Regions from separate parts of the Homo sapiens genome. Here all the other regions are linked to region 3. The links are contacts of gene promoters, found by promoter capture Hi-C in blood cells and fetal thymus (Javierre and others, 2016). All regions are on one chromosome and are shown on one strand. The core of a region is centred on a gene start or on the middle of the fragment in contact, and the rest is flanking DNA. Distances in the headings are between cores, read along the strand shown. Region 1 overlaps RNLS (renalase, FAD dependent amine oxidase). Region 2 overlaps RNLS (renalase, FAD dependent amine oxidase). Region 3 holds the start of KLLN (killin, p53 regulated DNA replication inhibitor). Region 4 overlaps RNLS (renalase, FAD dependent amine oxidase). Region 5 overlaps RNLS (renalase, FAD dependent amine oxidase). Region 6 overlaps RNLS (renalase, FAD dependent amine oxidase).

Evidence for each region. Contacts are between HindIII fragments. The CHiCAGO score rates a contact against its expected background, and 5 or more counts as called.
Region 1: a fragment that was not itself captured here is called in contact with the fragment with the promoter of KLLN in region 3 in 2 of 17 cell types (total B cells and naive B cells); the score reaches 5.6 in total B cells.
Region 2: a fragment that was not itself captured here is called in contact with the fragment with the promoter of KLLN in region 3 in 5 of 17 cell types (naive B cells, total B cells, fetal thymus and 2 more); the score reaches 8.4 in naive B cells.
Region 4: a contact is called between a fragment that was not itself captured here and the fragment with the promoter of KLLN in region 3, in 2 of 17 cell types (neutrophils and naive B cells). The highest score is 7.3, in neutrophils.
Region 5: a fragment that was not itself captured here is called in contact with the fragment with the promoter of KLLN in region 3 in 17 of 17 cell types (naive CD8 T cells, M2 macrophages, naive CD4 T cells and 14 more); the score reaches 35.0 in naive CD8 T cells.
Region 6: a fragment that was not itself captured here is called in contact with the fragment with the promoter of KLLN in region 3 in 4 of 17 cell types (naive B cells, naive CD8 T cells, total B cells and 1 more); the score reaches 8.0 in naive B cells.

What each region holds. Positions count from the first base shown.
Region 1 is chr10:88,493,532-88,496,231 of GRCh38, forward strand. All of the region lies in intron 4 of RNLS (renalase, FAD dependent amine oxidase), which reads right to left. Among named protein-coding and RNA genes, the nearest start is that of RNLS, 88 kb to the right of the region's middle. The HindIII fragment of the contact is 1,195 bases long and covers 737-1,931 here.
Region 2 is chr10:88,533,263-88,536,019 of GRCh38, forward strand. The region is part of intron 4 of RNLS (renalase, FAD dependent amine oxidase); the gene reads right to left. Among named protein-coding and RNA genes, the nearest start is that of RNLS, 49 kb to the right of the region's middle. The HindIII fragment of the contact is 5,160 bases long and covers 1-2,757 here.
Region 3 is chr10:87,862,280-87,865,402 of GRCh38, forward strand. It overlaps KLLN (killin, p53 regulated DNA replication inhibitor), which reads right to left and starts at 1,254. Exons shown (of 1, transcript NM_001126049.2): 1 at 1-1,254. The coding sequence starts at 208. MLDHR (mitochondrial lactate dehydrogenase regulator) reads left to right here and starts at 1,280. Exons shown (of 1, transcript NM_001433720.1): 1 at 1,280-1,375. The coding sequence starts at 1,280. The coding sequence ends at 1,375. It overlaps PTEN (phosphatase and tensin homolog), which reads left to right and starts at 1,346. Exons shown (of 9, transcript NM_000314.8): 1 at 1,346-2,269. The coding sequence starts at 2,191. RefSeq lists enhancers at 1-70, 321-500 and silencers at 1,101-1,410, 1,501-1,640. The HindIII fragment of the contact is 7,182 bases long and covers 1-3,123 here.
Region 4 is chr10:88,425,120-88,427,971 of GRCh38, forward strand. The region is part of intron 4 of RNLS (renalase, FAD dependent amine oxidase); the gene reads right to left. Among named protein-coding and RNA genes, the nearest start is that of RNLS, 160 kb to the right of the region's middle. The HindIII fragment of the contact is 4,896 bases long and covers 1-2,852 here.
Region 5 is chr10:88,387,808-88,390,660 of GRCh38, forward strand. The region is part of intron 4 of RNLS (renalase, FAD dependent amine oxidase); the gene reads right to left. Among named protein-coding and RNA genes, the nearest start is that of RNLS, 190 kb to the right of the region's middle. The HindIII fragment of the contact is 5,387 bases long and covers 1-2,853 here.
Region 6 is chr10:88,575,055-88,578,172 of GRCh38, forward strand. The region is part of intron 3 of RNLS (renalase, FAD dependent amine oxidase); the gene reads right to left. Among named protein-coding and RNA genes, the nearest start is that of RNLS, 6.7 kb to the right of the region's middle. The HindIII fragment of the contact is 4,346 bases long and covers 1-3,118 here.

The DNA.
Region 1 (2,700 bases), core at 84-2,583, 630 kb after region 3:
AAAGTTTCTCATTTTTTTCCTGACAATTTACTTTTTAAAAAATGAGTGATCTATTTGTTCTTGTCATTTTATAAATCAGCTCAAGATTGCTGTATTACATTGTTGCAGGGATAGATCTATGAACTTAGGGGCTTTTTTAAATTGTAGGAGAATACAGTTTCCCTTCCATTTCTCTCTCTCCTTCTCCCTCTCTTTGCTTTTTCACTGTAAGGTCAACAGCTTAAGAGGCACAAATCTCAACTACTGTGATTGTTTCCTTTTATATGATGGGGGATGTAAAGTCATTCAGAGCTGCATCTGTCAGTGGTGCTTTCTACCACTGCTGACGACTGGGTTATAAAAACATTCCTGAACAATTGTGAACATTGGCAGACCATAAACAAAATGGAGAACACTGGAAGACATTCAAACGATGATGTCTTAAATCCTGGCTCTAAAATTAAACTAAAAGAAAACTGATTATCCTTTGTCATGATATGCATGCCAAGAGCCATGCATGATATGCACAGTAGACACACACACAAAAATAAGGTAATAAAAATAAGAAACATATGGATTCTGTTAAAACACATGCATTCACAATGACAGATATTGAAAAGAACAAGGAAAGCAAGAGTTGAGGATATTCAGATTTTGAACAGCACTGTAATTAGCTTCAGAGGAGAGAAAGTTCCACAATAGGAAGTTACACGGAAAAATGTTACATACTGTTTGTAAAATGGTGAAAATATGAAAAAGCTTAGTGGCTTTCACTTCCTTAATAATCAGCATATAAATGGAGTATTTGTTCACCTATCCTTTCAGTAAGACATTTTCTTCAGTCATGCCATGAACAAGTCTCTCTTCTGGGCCAGTGGGGAACAAAAGAATAAGTAAAGAGCTTAAATGTGAGTGAATAAAATTAATAAAAGATTCTGTAATGTAATGGAACCATATTTATTATTTTCTTTTCATTTCATTAAAGTATTTACTTGAACCTCTACTTACTTTTAGAAAATATTCATTGCATTGTTTCTAAGGTGACTCAAGATTATTCAGAAATTATGTGTTAAGTTTTTCTGAATATGAATGGTACATATTCAAAAACCAGCCTGGTGGAGGAACTATTTTCAAGGAGTAATATTACCAGTGTGAAGGAGATATATCAGAAGAGGATTAGAGTTGGGCCTAGAGACCTTGGCCAACTTGTGGTACCAATGTTCACCAATTGTGTGATTTGGAAGCAACTCTGATAGGTGCCTGCCAAATTTAGTGGTGAACCCTTTCTCTAGACCAGACTTAAGTTTTGGTTCTTTTAAATTAAACAGTTCAGCAGAAATTTCAGGACATCAAGAAAACAGCCAAGGGTTACTCTGAGGTCCCTATATTCTTTACTCAGGAGAATAAGTAACAACATTCAACTACTGCCACTTCCTTCCTATGTCTGAAAAAGTCCAGGCATCCTTCCCCAAATTTTTACAGGTTTGACACTTAGATTCGCCTCTAATTCAGCAACTACTTTGAAGGGGAAAGATGTCCTATATATTTTTTATAACCTCTCCTACAACAGATATAATTCCTAGTGATGACAGCAAATCCTATTTCCATTACCTAATTTTAGATATGTTAAACATCCCACTCTTTTTTTAAGAAGCAATGTTAAATAATAAACTGGTACAACTTCTGGACAAAGATTTTTGTACAGGGACTTTCCAAGCATTGCATGTTTTACTTGTTGCAAAAATATGAAAGTTATCTTTCTAAGAAAGGTACACACAGATGTTGATATGACTTGAGAAAAATAGTCAATAGAGTCAATTTGTTATCTCCATCTTTAGCTGCAAGAGGGAGGGGGGATCATTAGATAAACCAAGTATGACAAGGAGGCTTTGGGTCTATAACTCTTATGGCAAATGGTTATATTATGTTAGACAAGTAGATTAAACTTTGCAAGCTTCAGATATTATCTTTGTAAAAAAGTGTATATAATACATCTGCTCTCATTACCGCACAAGGATTATGTCAAAGTAATCTCCATTTAAGTGAGTGGAACATACTGAAAAGAAATCAAAAAGGGCTACCAGTGGGGGATGAGAGAGGAGGAAAATTTGCAGAGAAGGAGAGAATATAGAAATGGAAATGAGAGAGAGCAGTGTATTGAGAGGAGGGCAGCATAAGAATGAGTAAAGAAGAGTGGGGCAGGGATGGGATGAGAAATGGAAGGGATATGGAAAACTGGTTTGGGTTTAGCTAGGGCAAAGCCCAAGTGACAAGGAATCCGTGGTTAAAGGCAGTATGACTGGAAATGAGCGAATTTAGGAATATGCATCTCAGCATTTTTTTCTTTTGGTTCAGGATTTTGGTGAGTGTCAGGTGTCGGCTTCAAGTGGGAATTTTGAAAGAAAAAAAGACAGAACATATTTGAAAAACTGGGGCAGGATAGAGGAAGGCAGCTTTAAAAAGTCGTGGTTGGGGATGCAGAAGACAAAAAGGGAAATAAGACAAACATTTTTAACTTGTCTGTTTTGCTTTCCATATGGGTTGCAGAAGGCAAAGGGGACAGAAGGAAGAGGGGAGAGAACATTTATGCAGCTTCTGGAAGGGGAGAAGTACCCCAGAAAAACACTTGTAAGGGAAAACAATTTGAAATTATCTATGAAAGGTAGAGAGCAATTACCCAACAGACAGAGTGGTTATAGACAAGACTGTATGAATCCAAGC
Region 2 (2,757 bases), core at 118-2,617, 670 kb after region 3:
CATTGGTTAAAGAGCACCACCAAGTATTACTTTTGGCTGAGGATAGAATAAAAGGATAAAAGGAGGCAGCCTTGAAGGATGAACTGAGTCTTAACAGAAACATGGAAATACTTTCTAAAGAAAAAAACAGTGTTAGAAAAAAGATACAGAAATGGAAACATATAGACATGTCAAGAAGAAAAGAAATACTTTGATTTGACCTTAAAGGTCAGTTGAAATCAGATTTTTAAAAGGGTTTTGAAGACCCAATTTTAGTCCATAAGCACTGGGGAACCCCTCAAAGTTTATTTGCACAGGAGAGCAAAATTACCTAAGGTACTGTTAGGAATAGTACTTTAGTTTCAGTTGTGAGGATGGAGTGAAGTGGGATTTGACTAACGATAGGCAGATCCCTTAAAGGGCTTCTATAGAAGTGCAGGCAAGAGGTAAGGGAAGCAGGGGATTCTGACAGACAGAATGACAAGACAGGGAGTGACACTGCACTGAACATGAAGAGAGAAACAGGTTTGGTGAGGACAGTGATGTCTAAAGTAACCATACACAAGTAGAATCCCACAAATAGTCTAAACCCTAGGTCTAAATCTTGGAGGAGAAATCAGTCTAAAAATAAAGATTTGAAATCTTCAGCACGGAAAGCCTTGGGGTAGATGAAATTGCTAATGAAGGGAGCAACGAAAACGAAGGTCCAAGACAAAGCCTTGAAAATTGCCTATATTTTAGGAGGAGAGAGAAGAAATAACTAACAAAGAAGGAAGAGAAGGTGTGATTAGAGTTAGAAGTAGAACAAGGAGAGTTTCAATCCTGATTAGCTAAGGGAAGAAGAAATTTATAAAGAAGGCACTGAAACAAGGAAGGCAGACTATAGGCTAATTTAGATGTCATGATGAGGAGGTCACTGGGGATGGCCTTTAAGAGAATGATTTAGCAAAGGACAAACAAAAGTGGTTTAAATTTGTTTTATGGACTGGAGACCTGCAGCATTATGTAACATAGAAGCCCTGAATTAGGCAACATTTAGCAAGAGTTCTACCCTTGGCTCCCCTGTGTAGCTGTGTGACCTAATACTGGTCATATAAATCCTCTGGACATGAACATCCTCACCTTTTAAAATAGGAGACAGCAGAGGCTTGAAATAGGGAATTGCTCTGAGCTGGCATTTCATACTAACTACAATTATAAGAAATAATAAAAAATTATTCTTCAATAAATAAAGATTTTAGAAGTTATTAAAAGCATTGGCTTGAGAGTCAGATACACCTGAGATTGGTGCTAGCTTGAACCCCTAATAGTACTGAAGAAGTGGTTTAATCTCTAAACCGTGGATTCCTCTTGTGTCAATGAAATCAGTATCAGCAATTCCATCATAGGCTGTGTTGAGAATTACACAAGCCATGAAAAGATAACAGTATAGTTCCTGGACTCTAAAAAGGCTTCATAAATATTTGTTGGCTAAATGAATAAATCTCAACTTGTATTCTTAGAAAGGACCAAAAGCAGGATAGAATCCTGTGAGGAAACATCATCTGGAGGAGATGAGACCTTGAAATAAATAGGAAATGTGGGAGTTGGAGGGAGACATTTACATGGACACTAACAGACAGTCAGGTATCAGCTGGGTTCAAATATAAGCACTGTCATTTAGTAGCAGTGTGACTTGAGCAAGTCACCTAATCCTAAACCTTGGAGACAGAAAAAATCAAAGCAAAAATGGCAAATACTTTACATAAATAAATATGAGAGACGGGTCCCTGAGTGTCAGTTATATTGTTCATGGGTTTTTAAAAATACATTTGTAACATTTCATAATTAAAAAGTTTTGATCAATTGGGGCAATAATATCTATATAACATGAGGATTAAATAAAGTAATATTAAAAATCATGACAGTGTTTTTCACATAGTTCTCAATAAATGGTTACTGCTATTTCTTACTGTAAGTATTGTTATTTTCCCATTCTAGGAGGAGACAGGATTAAAGACAAACAATGGAACAAACACAAGTGTGTAATGTGTATAAGTGAGTATGTGTGGTGAGAGGAGGGTAGTGAACAAAGCAGAGATAAAATCAGGTTGACTGAAACCAAGAAGGCAGTCTGGGAGTAGTTGTATAGGTTGGAAACGGGAGAGGGAAGAAGGACTTATTATACAGAAGGTTTTAAAAGCCAGGTAGTGGGGGAGGGGTTGGGGGAGGGAGAACATCAGGAAGAATAGTTAATGGATGCTGGGCTTAATACCTAGGAGATGGGATGATCTGTTCAGCAAACCACCATGGCACACGTTTACCTACGTAACAAACCTGCACATCCTGCACATGTACCCCTGAACTTAAAAGTTGGAAAAAAAAAGATAAAAAAAACCTAGGTAGTAGGACTCATTACTGATAAAATAAACAATAATGAGTCCCTACAGCTGAAGTTTGGGTCAGGGGAAATACAAAATGAGAGTAGTGCTTGAAGAGTCAAATGATAGAAATAATAAACTAGAGTAGAAGAAAGTGTTGAGAAACTATCTCAGTAACTCAAGTCAAGAGGAACCACAGCTAGGATTCTAGGGAAGGTTGAAAGTGGAAATGGCATATCTCAGATGAACCTTTTCTTAGAAAGAAATCTGCAAAGAAATAAGATGACTTAAAGGCTATTAAAGAAATAAAGAGAAAGTAGAGAGAAGAATAAAAGATAATGCTAAGATTTTGAAGATGAAATATCCTCCATCTCAGTAAAATAAAATAGAATTGAGAGATCTGAGAGATGGTATCTAG
Region 3 (3,123 bases), core at 4-2,503:
CTAGGGACACACGTGACCTCCTTCGGAAAGTAGTTCCGACTGTGGCCCGTGTATCCTTCCACCTCCTTTTGAACCCTCCTAGGTCTCCTCGCCCCGCCCACTCGCTGGGCTGCAGCTTCCTACCGTTCCGTACTTTCCACTCAACCCGGTAACCCCAAACGTGCACGGTCCGGCCGGGGCGCGCGGAGCCTGGCCCCGGGCGATCCATCCTGCCGGGTTTTCACGGCGGCCAAGGGGGGGCGGGGCTAGGTGGTCTCTGAGAACCGAGCTTGACTCCGACGCCGCGAACCGACCTGGAGCCCGAGGGGAAAGATGCTCGACTCTCTTGGGGGCACCGGAGCGGGCGCAGGAGAGGCCTGCGGGGTGCGTCCCACTCACAGGGATCCTCTTTCAGTTCATTTAGATAGGTGCCCTTTGGGCCCTTGAAATTCAACGGCTATGTGTTCACGTTCAGCACGCTCGGCTGAGAGCTTTCATTTTTAGGGCAAACGAGCCGAGTTACCGGGGAAGCGAGAGGTGGGGCGCTGCAAGGGAGCCGGATGAGGTGATACACGCTGGCGACACAATAGCAGGTTGCTCTTTGTGCTAAGACTGACACCATGAGGACACAGATTTGGGGGAAGGGGGAATCTCTAGGCAAAGGCTGTTACAGTCAAATCTCTGCGAACGATTGTGATCCGACAGCGGTGCAAAAGGAAAGAGCGAATGCAGTCCACGCCGCGGAAATCTAGGGGTAGAGGCAAGGGGGGAGGGTATTCCCCTTGCAGGGACCGTCCCTGCATTTCCCTCTACACTGAGCAGCGTGGTCACCTGGTCCTTTTCACCTGTGCACAGGTAACCTCAGACTCGAGTCAGTGACACTGCTCAACGCACCCATCTCAGCTTTCATCATCAGTCCTCCACCCCCGCCCCACAACAGCCTACCCTGCCTCCGGCTGGGTTTCTGGGCAGAGGCCGAGGCTTAGCTCGTTATCCTCGCCTCGCGTTGCTGCAAAAGCCGCAGCAAGTGCAGCTGCAGGCTGGCGGCTGGGAACCGGCCCGAGCAAGCCCCAGGCAGCTACACTGGGCATGCTCAGTAGAGCCTGCGGCTTGGGGACTCTGCGCTCGCACCCAGAGCTACCGCTCTGCCCCCTCCTACCGCCCCCTGCCCTGCCCTGCCCTCCCCTCGCCCGGCGCGGTCCCGTCCGCCTCTCGCTCGCCTCCCGCCTCCCCTCGGTCTTCCGAGGCGCCCGGGCTCCCGGCGCGGCGGCGGAGGGGGCGGGCAGGCCGGCGGGCGGTGATGTGGCGGGACTCTTTATGCGCTGCGGCAGGATACGCGCTCGGCGCTGGGACGCGACTGCGCTCAGTTCTCTCCTCTCGGAAGCTGCAGCCATGATGGAAGTTTGAGAGTTGAGCCGCTGTGAGGCGAGGCCGGGCTCAGGCGAGGGAGATGAGAGACGGCGGCGGCCGCGGCCCGGAGCCCCTCTCAGCGCCTGTGAGCAGCCGCGGGGGCAGCGCCCTCGGGGAGCCGGCCGGCCTGCGGCGGCGGCAGCGGCGGCGTTTCTCGCCTCCTCTTCGTCTTTTCTAACCGTGCAGCCTCTTCCTCGGCTTCTCCTGAAAGGGAAGGTGGAAGCCGTGGGCTCGGGCGGGAGCCGGCTGAGGCGCGGCGGCGGCGGCGGCACCTCCCGCTCCTGGAGCGGGGGGGAGAAGCGGCGGCGGCGGCGGCCGCGGCGGCTGCAGCTCCAGGGAGGGGGTCTGAGTCGCCTGTCACCATTTCCAGGGCTGGGAACGCCGGAGAGTTGGTCTCTCCCCTTCTACTGCCTCCAACACGGCGGCGGCGGCGGCTGGCACATCCAGGGACCCGGGCCGGTTTTAAACCTCCCGTGCGCCGCCGCCGCACCCCCCGTGGCCCGGGCTCCGGAGGCCGCCGGCGGAGGCAGCCGTTCGGAGGATTATTCGTCTTCTCCCCATTCCGCTGCCGCCGCTGCCAGGCCTCTGGCTGCTGAGGAGAAGCAGGCCCAGTCGCTGCAACCATCCAGCAGCCGCCGCAGCAGCCATTACCCGGCTGCGGTCCAGAGCCAAGCGGCGGCAGAGCGAGGGGCATCAGCTACCGCCAAGTCCAGAGCCATTTCCATCCTGCAGAAGAAGCCCCGCCACCAGCAGCTTCTGCCATCTCTCTCCTCCTTTTTCTTCAGCCACAGGCTCCCAGACATGACAGCCATCATCAAAGAGATCGTTAGCAGAAACAAAAGGAGATATCAAGAGGATGGATTCGACTTAGACTTGACCTGTATCCATTTCTGCGGCTGCTCCTCTTTACCTTTCTGTCACTCTCTTAGAACGTGGGAGTAGACGGATGCGAAAATGTCCGTAGTTTGGGTGACTATAACATTTAACCCTGGTCAGGTTGCTAGGTCATATATTTTGTGTTTCCTTTCTGTGTATTCAACCTAGGGTGTGTTTGGCTAGACGGAACTCTTGCCTGGTTGCAAGTGTCAAGCCACCGATTGCTTTCTTAGGCTATCTATATGGTCTCTTCCTGAGGGCTATTGTCCGTTAATACAGAATACAGTACACTGTTAGTGGATTAGCGAGCTCGGTAATCCGGTCTCCTAAATGAACAAAAAAGTAGACGCTTTTTGAGGTTGAGCATATTTCGATTAAATCTTGGCTTAGGCCCTAGATCAAGGGTTTAGATCAGAATAAAATGAAAATTAGTGTTGCACGTACGCATATTGCATCAGAATCTTGCAGTGATTGTTTTAGTTTCCTGAGTTGCATTGATAGATTCTTTTAAAATATGACTGATTTGCATAACTTTAGAAGCAGAATCATTTTCAGTATATATGGTGCACATTGAGGGCAAAAAGTAGTTTTGTTAATGTTTAAACTTAAGTTACCTACAACTTTGAACTGTATGTAGAAGTTTTGTAGTTTGAAGTCAATAGTGCCATAATATACCTTATAAGGCGTTCTTACTAGATCTTTGTTATATTTACCTTTTTCTCTCCCTATGGGGTGATGTAGGATAGTGCTTGAAATTTGCACTTCAGTAGCATTTAATGTTCAGTGCTCTTGTCATAAACATAGAATGGATATTGAGTAGTTTCTGATCCCAGATGGTAATGTGTAGGTTCAAGGGTA
Region 4 (2,852 bases), core at 250-2,749, 560 kb after region 3:
TTTTGAAGGGGAGGAAGGGAACTGTGCATATAATATTTCACCCCCATCTATTCTTTCCCCACGCTTCATCAGAACAGATGGCAGAGATGCATTAGTTGTCTCGTTTTGTTTTGAAATGTTTCATTGTAAAATAAACAATTCTTCAGTAGAGTTTTTGTTAGTACATAAAACTAGACTTAGAGTAAAGTTAAATGCCTTTTCCCCACTACCCCTGCCCCAAAGCATAAATAAAACAAAAATTAAAAGATGCATCAAACCAAATACAAATAAAGCAAAAAGTCAAAAGGAGCTAATAAAGTTGAAACTGCTGGCAACTTCTGTCTTTGTCCTAATGTGTTTCTGTACAATGAATCTTCCTATTTACCCACAAATTAATGTTTTCATTATGCTGCATTTAGTTTTATATTGCCTGGCAGTATGTCTAAGGTGGCTTTGAGTAAGCCACCTCATTAACAATGATTTATTGGGTATTCCACCTAGTATGAGGTACAGAAGTATAAGACATGATCATTGCTCTCAAGGAATTTAAAATCTGTTTAAGTATTTTTCTTAAAAATGATAGCTAAAAATACAAAACTGTATGTGTTAAGTGACAGCTAATTGGTTTAGACATCAGCTGCTATAGAAGGTTAGAAAAAGGTGAAATGACTTACACTTAGGGTAGAGAAAAAAACGTTGATGTGAGGTGTGAGCTAAAGATTCAGATAAGTAGAAAAAGACATTCCAAAAAGAATGGTAAGAGTAGGGCACAGATACAGGAAAACACAAAGTGTGTTTGGAGTAGGGGGTCAATGAACTGTGGCAGGAATGATAAAATTAGGGAGGGAGAAAGACCTAGAATAGAATGCACAAGTGTCCCTGAAAATTTTAAAGTTCCAGAATTATCCCAAAACTAACTTGGAAGTTTACTCTGTTGCTGGACAGAGGGCTAGAATAGTATACTTTCAATATGACTTCATTCATTCATTTAGTTTGTTATATGGCAGTTTAGCGGTATGTGTATTAGGTGCTGTAGACACAATGAAATTAGAATATGGCTCTTTGTACTCAAGAAGATCACAGTCTAATGTGGAACACAGAGAAGTACACAAGAATTAAAACCCATACTGAAGGTCATACCATGTCAAACTTGGGGCACATTTGGCAGTTCACCAAAATCCTGTTCCAATGAAGTAGGCTCATGTGAATAGTGGGAAACACAGAATAGAGGCCAAGGAGGGAGTCATCATCATTTATGTCTTCAATATTGTAACATAGGACATTTGTACTGACAACTTATGAGGGCTGTAAGTTATATATAGAAAACATTCCCCCCAATTCCCCCTTTTTTTACTGTTGGGAAAAAGAAAAGGAGGAGATACAGGGAAAAAAAATTCACAAGAGGAAGTCAGGCCCCCTTAATAAGCAAATGTTTTTAGAAGAGAAAAAAGATGAAGAAATTTTGTTATTTCTAATTGCTAGCATTTAATCATAGCTATCACTCACAGATCACATACTACTTGCCTGGCACTGTTCTAGATGCTTTGCATGTATTAACTCAGTTACCACAACAACCCCATGAGACAGGTACTATTATTATCCCCTTCCATACATACCTTCTTAGAGATGGCCAAGGCACCAAAGACAGTAAGGAGGAGGAGCCAGGGTTCAAGTTCAGCCCTGTTCTTAACCAGCACATAACACAGCTTTCTCATAAGTGTGAAGATCCTAGGGGGTAACAGTAGTACATGGGGAGGGGAAGCCCTCAGAAAGATGTCAGATAAAGATCAGTTAAACCTAAGAAAAGCTAAAATGGGTGGAGTAAATTGATGGGAAGAGCCTACATTATTTTACTTTGTAATGGTGGTTAGAATTACATAAACAGGAAATGGTTTCCTTTTAGTAACTAATAAAAACAGTATCTAATATTGATTAAGCATCTATATGTGTCTGGTACTCCCCACAGGTACCATTATTACCACCATTTTGCAAAAAGAAAATTGGAGATTCGTGGTTAAATAGAAAGAGGTTTGTTTAATCTTTATCACAATTCACACAGTTAGCAAGGACTAGTGCGTCTAATCTTTACTACCACACTATACTCATTATCCCTACAATTACCTTATGGTTATCAGCCTTGTGGATTCTACTGATCTGTTAGAATGCCAAAAGTCCTACTGTGCTGGAGTGGAATCAGGGTATGGCATTGAGGGGTAAGTCTATATTTCTTTGACAGGGTGGCTGGCTCTTTATGGCATTTCAGAACAAGAAGAATTATTTGAGATTTTGGATAATCCATGTCTCTGCCTCCATCCAAGGGTGGACAATTGTTGATCTCTTTCCAATATCTAATATTTGCATATTAACTGCTCTTTCTCTTAAAGTAAGATATTTCACCTACCTGACACATTTCAACTTGTAAACTCCAGATGCAGGCATGAAAATCATATCTCTTTTCAAGTTCAAAGAACAGAAAACCATAATCAACTATAGTACAGGAATTGGAGATTGCATTATTCCTGTTGAATTCTGGTGGCCAAATAAAAATCTACTTACTATTTGATACAAATAAAGGAAAATGTATCAACAACTCCATAGAACAGAGAGAAATCAGTCATATTCTTAAAGTCATTAAAGGGAAAAGATACAAATGATGTTGATTGGATATCTTCCATATGCTGTGCATTTGACATACTTTATAGTAACTCATGTTGTTCTCAGAATGATCCATGGCTTATGATCTCACTTCATATAGGAAGCAACTGAACTACAGCATGGTTAAGTAAGTTCCTCCCAGTCAAAAAGCTGAGTAGCAGAGACAGCTTAGATATGCTTACGTTTTCTTTGTACTATGTTGCCTTTACTAGGAGACA
Region 5 (2,853 bases), core at 45-2,544, 530 kb after region 3:
TGCTCTGACAGCAGAAAAGAAAATCAGAAGGCACGTCAGCCTGTAGTTTAGCGGGCAATGCAGACAGGAGTGAAGGGCTCCCTGTTCTTCACGACCACACACCTTGAAAACATAGATATAGGAAACATCTCTGTGGGTATTTGGAAGGGGAGATGGTTGTGGTACAAATGAAACCTATGTCTAGAGGGCTCAGAGGGCAGTCCTGAATATATTTCCCTGGGGTGTATCACAGTCGCCTTTCATTTAACACGTAGAAGTTGGATACCTAATTATTCCTTCCATCTATCCTTGAAAGCTGTTCCTTCCTCAGGCTTAGTCGACAACATAACCATTCACCCAGTTGCTCAAGCTAAGAACCTGTAAGTCATCTTTGTCTTAATTTTCTTTCCATGTTTAATTTATCAGCAAGTCCTGTAGATTCTACTTCTAAAACACACCTTGAATAAGGCTACTCTGTTCATCTCCATAATCACCATTGTTTTCTCCTTCTGAGCCACTGCAATAACTTGCTATTTGGTTTCAATACTTTCTGGCACCCTGTCTTCCCCAGCTCTTGCCTCCTTCCCTTGAAATCCATTCTCTGGACTATGCCATCCTGCTTAAAACATGCCTGAGAATAATTCAAAATCCTTCCCAGGATCTGGCCCCAGTTTAATTTGCCTCACTCTGCCTAGGACTCACTGTTCTAGCTATGGAGGCCTCCTTTTTGTTATCAGAACACAGCACAGTCTTTCCAGCTGAAGAGACTTAAATATTTTGCTGGTCCCTGTCTCCATGTTATCACATGGCTAGCTCTTTCTCCTATCTCATGCTATCTACACAGACAGTCCTACTCTCACAAGCTGTGTGAGAGTTCCCTTCATTCTCATAGAACCTTTTTATTAACTTTCTGTGACCTCTCAAACTGAAATTACTTATGTTTTTATTTGATTCCTTGTTTATCATCGTCTTTTTATATGACTTCCCCCTACTAGTAATCAAACTCCATTAAGACAAGGATCAGGTCAATTGCCCTCATCACTGTATCCCCAGAGCTTACAACGTGGTACACAGGAGATACTCAATAACTATGTGTCGAATGAATAAGTGAATAAATATCAGGGAATTAACATACCCTACATGTTACATAGTACCATGCATCAGTGGAGCCATGGATATGAGACACTGTGTTTCCTGTTTGTAACCTGTTATTTGTTAATTCCTGTCAGAGTTGAGAGCTCTGATAGTAGCTGCCATCATCTGGGGAGTTCTATGGAATCTTGCCACCATGAGTTCTGGAAAAGGGAATCTGTTTGTGTTGGGACTTGAGGGATGGTATAAATTAACTCCCAAGGTTTATTAGTAGTAAACAATTAAAATCCACCCTGAAATTGGAGCTTTACTAAAGATGGCTATTTTGTAGCATGTAGGAAATTACGATATTGGTTTACCTCCTAGGATTCAAAAAGCATTCATTCTCTTTTGGAGCCAGAAAAGGAGAGGTATGTCTCCTAACAGAACTGTGCTGGGTTTTTTTTTGTTATTGTTGTTTTCTTTTTTTGACAGTCTGTGGAGCTCACACATTGGCCATAATAAAGCCTGCTATCTATTTTTGATTTGTCAAAGTTGTGCTTGAGAGTGATTAACATACCCTTAGCAAAATGAATCATTCTATAGAGATTTAAAAGTCACGATGGAATAAATATCTTGGTCAAAGGTATTGCTGCTTTAATTACATTCATTTGTTTCAATATTTCGGTTTTAGGGATTTCTTAACTGAGTTGTTAAGGATCCTTTTAGGGATTTCTTAACTGAGTTGTTAAGGATCCTTTTGAAAGTGAAGTTTACCATGGTGCCCTCTGGTGGAATGAAATTCGCACAGTTTTTAAAGCTAAAGCCCTATCTAGTGAGAATGCATACAGAAATAAAAGGAGCAACATTAAATACAAATGTCCAAAAACTATAAGCAGGGTACTCTTGCTATTGGGGGACTACAAGATATACCTGCCTCAGAATATTTACAGATTCAGGGATAGGGCATGTAGTTGCTATAAAGGAAGAGCAATGACATAAATACATACAATTCCAAATCCATTAGAAAATGAGGGCCAGAAGCCACAGCATTTCATATCATCTGGCAACACTGACACTGACTAATTAGGTATTATATTGAGAAAGTCAGAAGAAGGTGATGGCAATTACAGCATTTGCAACAATATTCATAAATAGCTAGGAACACAAGGGGGAAATACAATTTGGTTGTGGTCTATCAAGAACCAGTGGATATTCATTTGATAGGACTTTTGTAATTAGGCTCACCATCAAAGCTGATAAAATCATCAAAATGGTAAGTGTCCCAGTGTTGGTTCCTTGAAACTGTGTTGTGACCAGACTTAGTGACTCCTTGATAAAGCAGCTTTCACGTGTCTTCACAAGGAAATAAAGTGAAAGTCTCTGGGACGCTATCTGGGTCACACACCACAGGGATCCTGCTCAGAGGATTTAGAACATTGGACCAGCTCACTAAGGAAAGATGTCAAGGCCCTTCTTTGAGGACCTAAGGAAGTTTTTAATATTCGTTCGTCTGAATGCACTAAATAAAACTCTCATTCCAAATAAGATAAAAGAGGGGAAAAAAGTGTTTGAGCATCCAATCCCCCAAAGTGTCTGCAAATTATTTAGTATTATTTCAGTACTCAAACTTCCTGAAAGGTGGAATGTGGGGCAGAGGAGTAGTGAGCAGGGACCATAGCACACATGCATTTAGTCAGCTTGTTGGTTTTCTTATTGGGGACCTTTCTTTGAAACTTGGTGCACCTCAGATTTTAAAAAACCCAAAGCCAAAAAACAACTAACAGCTGGCTCTTCTAAAGC
Region 6 (3,118 bases), core at 264-2,763, 710 kb after region 3:
AGAAAATTCTTCATGCCCCAGATGAACGCCTTGAAAATGTATCCCAATGGCCACAAGGTGTTCTGCAAAGTATATATATATATATATATATATATATATATATATACACACACACACACACACACATATTATATATATATACTATATATATATGTGTGTGTATATATATATATATATATACACATATATATACACCAAGGTGTATATGTATATGTGTGTGTGTGTGTGTATATATATATATGTCAGTGGTTCTCTAAGTATGAACCCCAGACCAGCAGCACCTATGTACTAGAAAATGCACATTCCTGGGCCCCAACCCGACCATACTGAATAAGAAACTCTGGGAATTGAGCCTCGCAATCCATGTTTAACAAGCTCCCTTAGTCTTGTCATGATGCGCGCTAAAGTATGAGAACCACTGGGGTAGGTGGACACGCCCAAATCAAACACCACTGGCAAAACCACCCAAAAAGCAGCATTTATCAAGAGGTAGGAGAAATGGTATAGCCTCTCTTATTAACCAGAAAGGCTTCCTTTCCAACTGCTTGGAGCAAAGTTTTTGGGAAAGTGGCATTTCCTTGTGAAAGTAATTAATAACTTTCACAAAGACTATGTGTTTAAATCTATAAGCTCTGAAAAACCCAATTTTAAAATGGATAAATAAATAGTCTCAAGAGTTATGTCTGAGCTTAGTAAATTTGACCATGTCCCTCTCTTGCATAAAACCCTTCAATGGCTTCCCATCGCACTTAGAGTATAAAATCTTTAACATTGCTTACAAAGCCCTGTATAACCTGGCCCTGCCTTAGTCTTGAGCATCATCTTTTACCATTTTCTCCCTCACTCACTACCGTCCAGTCATAATGATCTTTTATTCCTTGAATGCACTAACCTCCTCCTACTGCTTCAAAACAGTTCCAATTTGATGTGTCCACTGCATTGAACTCTCATCATTCAGCTCTCAGCCTAATTCCCTCTTGCCCACCTTTCAGGTACCCATGAAAATATCAGTTCCTCAGGGATGCTTTCCCTAACACATCTCCCCCATCACTCCTCTAAAACCTACTGGGCTAGGTCCTTTTATTGTAAGTTCTCTCATAATGCTCTCACTCTTTCTTCTTAACATTTATCATGCATCTTTTCTTTGTATGTATAATTAGTTTAATGTCTTTTCTTCCCACTATACTCTACATTAACAGAGGCCAGGATCATGTCTCTTATTGACTTTTGTTTCCCCAGCACATAATATTTAATTAGAATAAAATGATCTTCAGATAGCTATAAAGATATCAGAAGTCTAAGAAGGTTTAAACATTTTACAAAGGCAAATGTGTTTCTGTTATATATTTATTCAATTTTATCCCTGGCCTTCCTCCATTTTAAGGAGAAAATCCAAGTTTATGTTTCTCCTATGATTTCCCACAAATAGGTTTTAGTGAGCAGCAGTCAGAACTGCTCAGGTGGGACCTGAAGTGATGTGAACCATCTCTAACTGACTACACAGCTTGAAGTAAATAGAAGAATGCTTAACCTGGTTTTCATGCCATCCTCTAGCTTCTCTAAAAAGGACATCGTTACGGATGAGTGCCAGGATCACCTGCTGGGAGAAATTTTGAGACAGAACCACCCAGACTCACTTCCCCTCTATCAATTTTAGAAAGAAAATAGGCACAAAAGTAAAAAGAGAGAGAATAATAAAAGTAAATATTACAATACAGAAGCCATCCTAGCTAATGGCATCTGCCACCTAAACCATTTTTTTCTAATAAATTGATCTTGTCAATTTTGACAGGTTACTTTGCAAATGTTGACTTTCTGGATCGCTAGCCAATGTCCTTTTTAGGTAGATGATAAAATAAAAACAAATAAATGCAGCAACAGCCCTCCCTATTGGTAGGACAAGCTAAATAAAAGCTGCTCACTCTGTGTCCTGGAAGCTAAATTCATCTTTTTTGAATAATTTAGTAACATGGGACCTTATTCAAAAGCAAAAGGACCTGGCCCATCATTTTCCATGTCATAGGCAGGAACCATCAGGTGACCAATTTCCCAGGTTGCATAAAGAACTAAGGTGGTATTACTCTTCAATATCCACTTCCCCCTATGTCAGGAATTAACTGATGAAAGAGGGAAACTAGGGGCACAGGGAACTATGAGGTTGTTCTATTGAACCATGTGTCTACTGACACGTAGCACCAGGTGGGATGGGTACAATCTTCATACTATAGGAAAATAATCAATAAGGAAAGAGAAGGCTCTACAAAATAGATGTTAAATTGGAGAGTATGAGCACCTCTCATTGCCCTCCATGAGAGACTTAATAGAAAAAAACAACATGATTAATTGCAAAGGCACTTCAGTTCTGTTACCAACTAGCCAAGCCACCTTAGACAAAGTACCTGAGTCTCATTCTTCGCATTAACAAATAGGGATGATGATTAACTCCCTTGAAAATTTACTGTGAGAATTAGAAACTACATACGTAAAGTACCTCAGGTAGTATTAGATAAATAGTCAGCACTTAATAACTGATAGCTAGAATCACTTTTGCTATTGTCAATTCTCACCCCAGCATAATGACAACTAGTATAAAAAAAGAACAAAAGAAAATCATGTTTCACTCACTCAAGAAGATTGTATTAATGGAGAAGGCAGGCAGTCAGTGAAATTGATGCCAATAAATACAGCTTTCTCTGCAATGAGGTTAATGTGAACACATCGGACAATAAATTAAAATAGAACATAAGGTCAAGAAGAAAGCATCTATTTCCTTTACCTTTTACTATTTGTTCTGGGAAATTGGTCTAGTTAAATATTGGCTTTAAAGGTTTGAACCTATTCTAAAGCATGCCTGATTAGGCATATCCCAGACAAATAATTGCCCTGGGAGTCTGGTCCCAATCTGAATGACCACTGGTTGGTCCATCAGATTGTGGGGTTTTAAACTCAACTAGATTCCAAAATATAGAGTATTTTTGAAAATAGTTGGCAATTTGATTTCTTAAAGTAAGGAATATATGAAGGTCAGCTTCATTCAAGTACAATATTTTTTAAACTAACATTTTTCAAGAGATTACTATGTGACTGGCTTACTACTTGCTTGAATTTGAGTGCATTA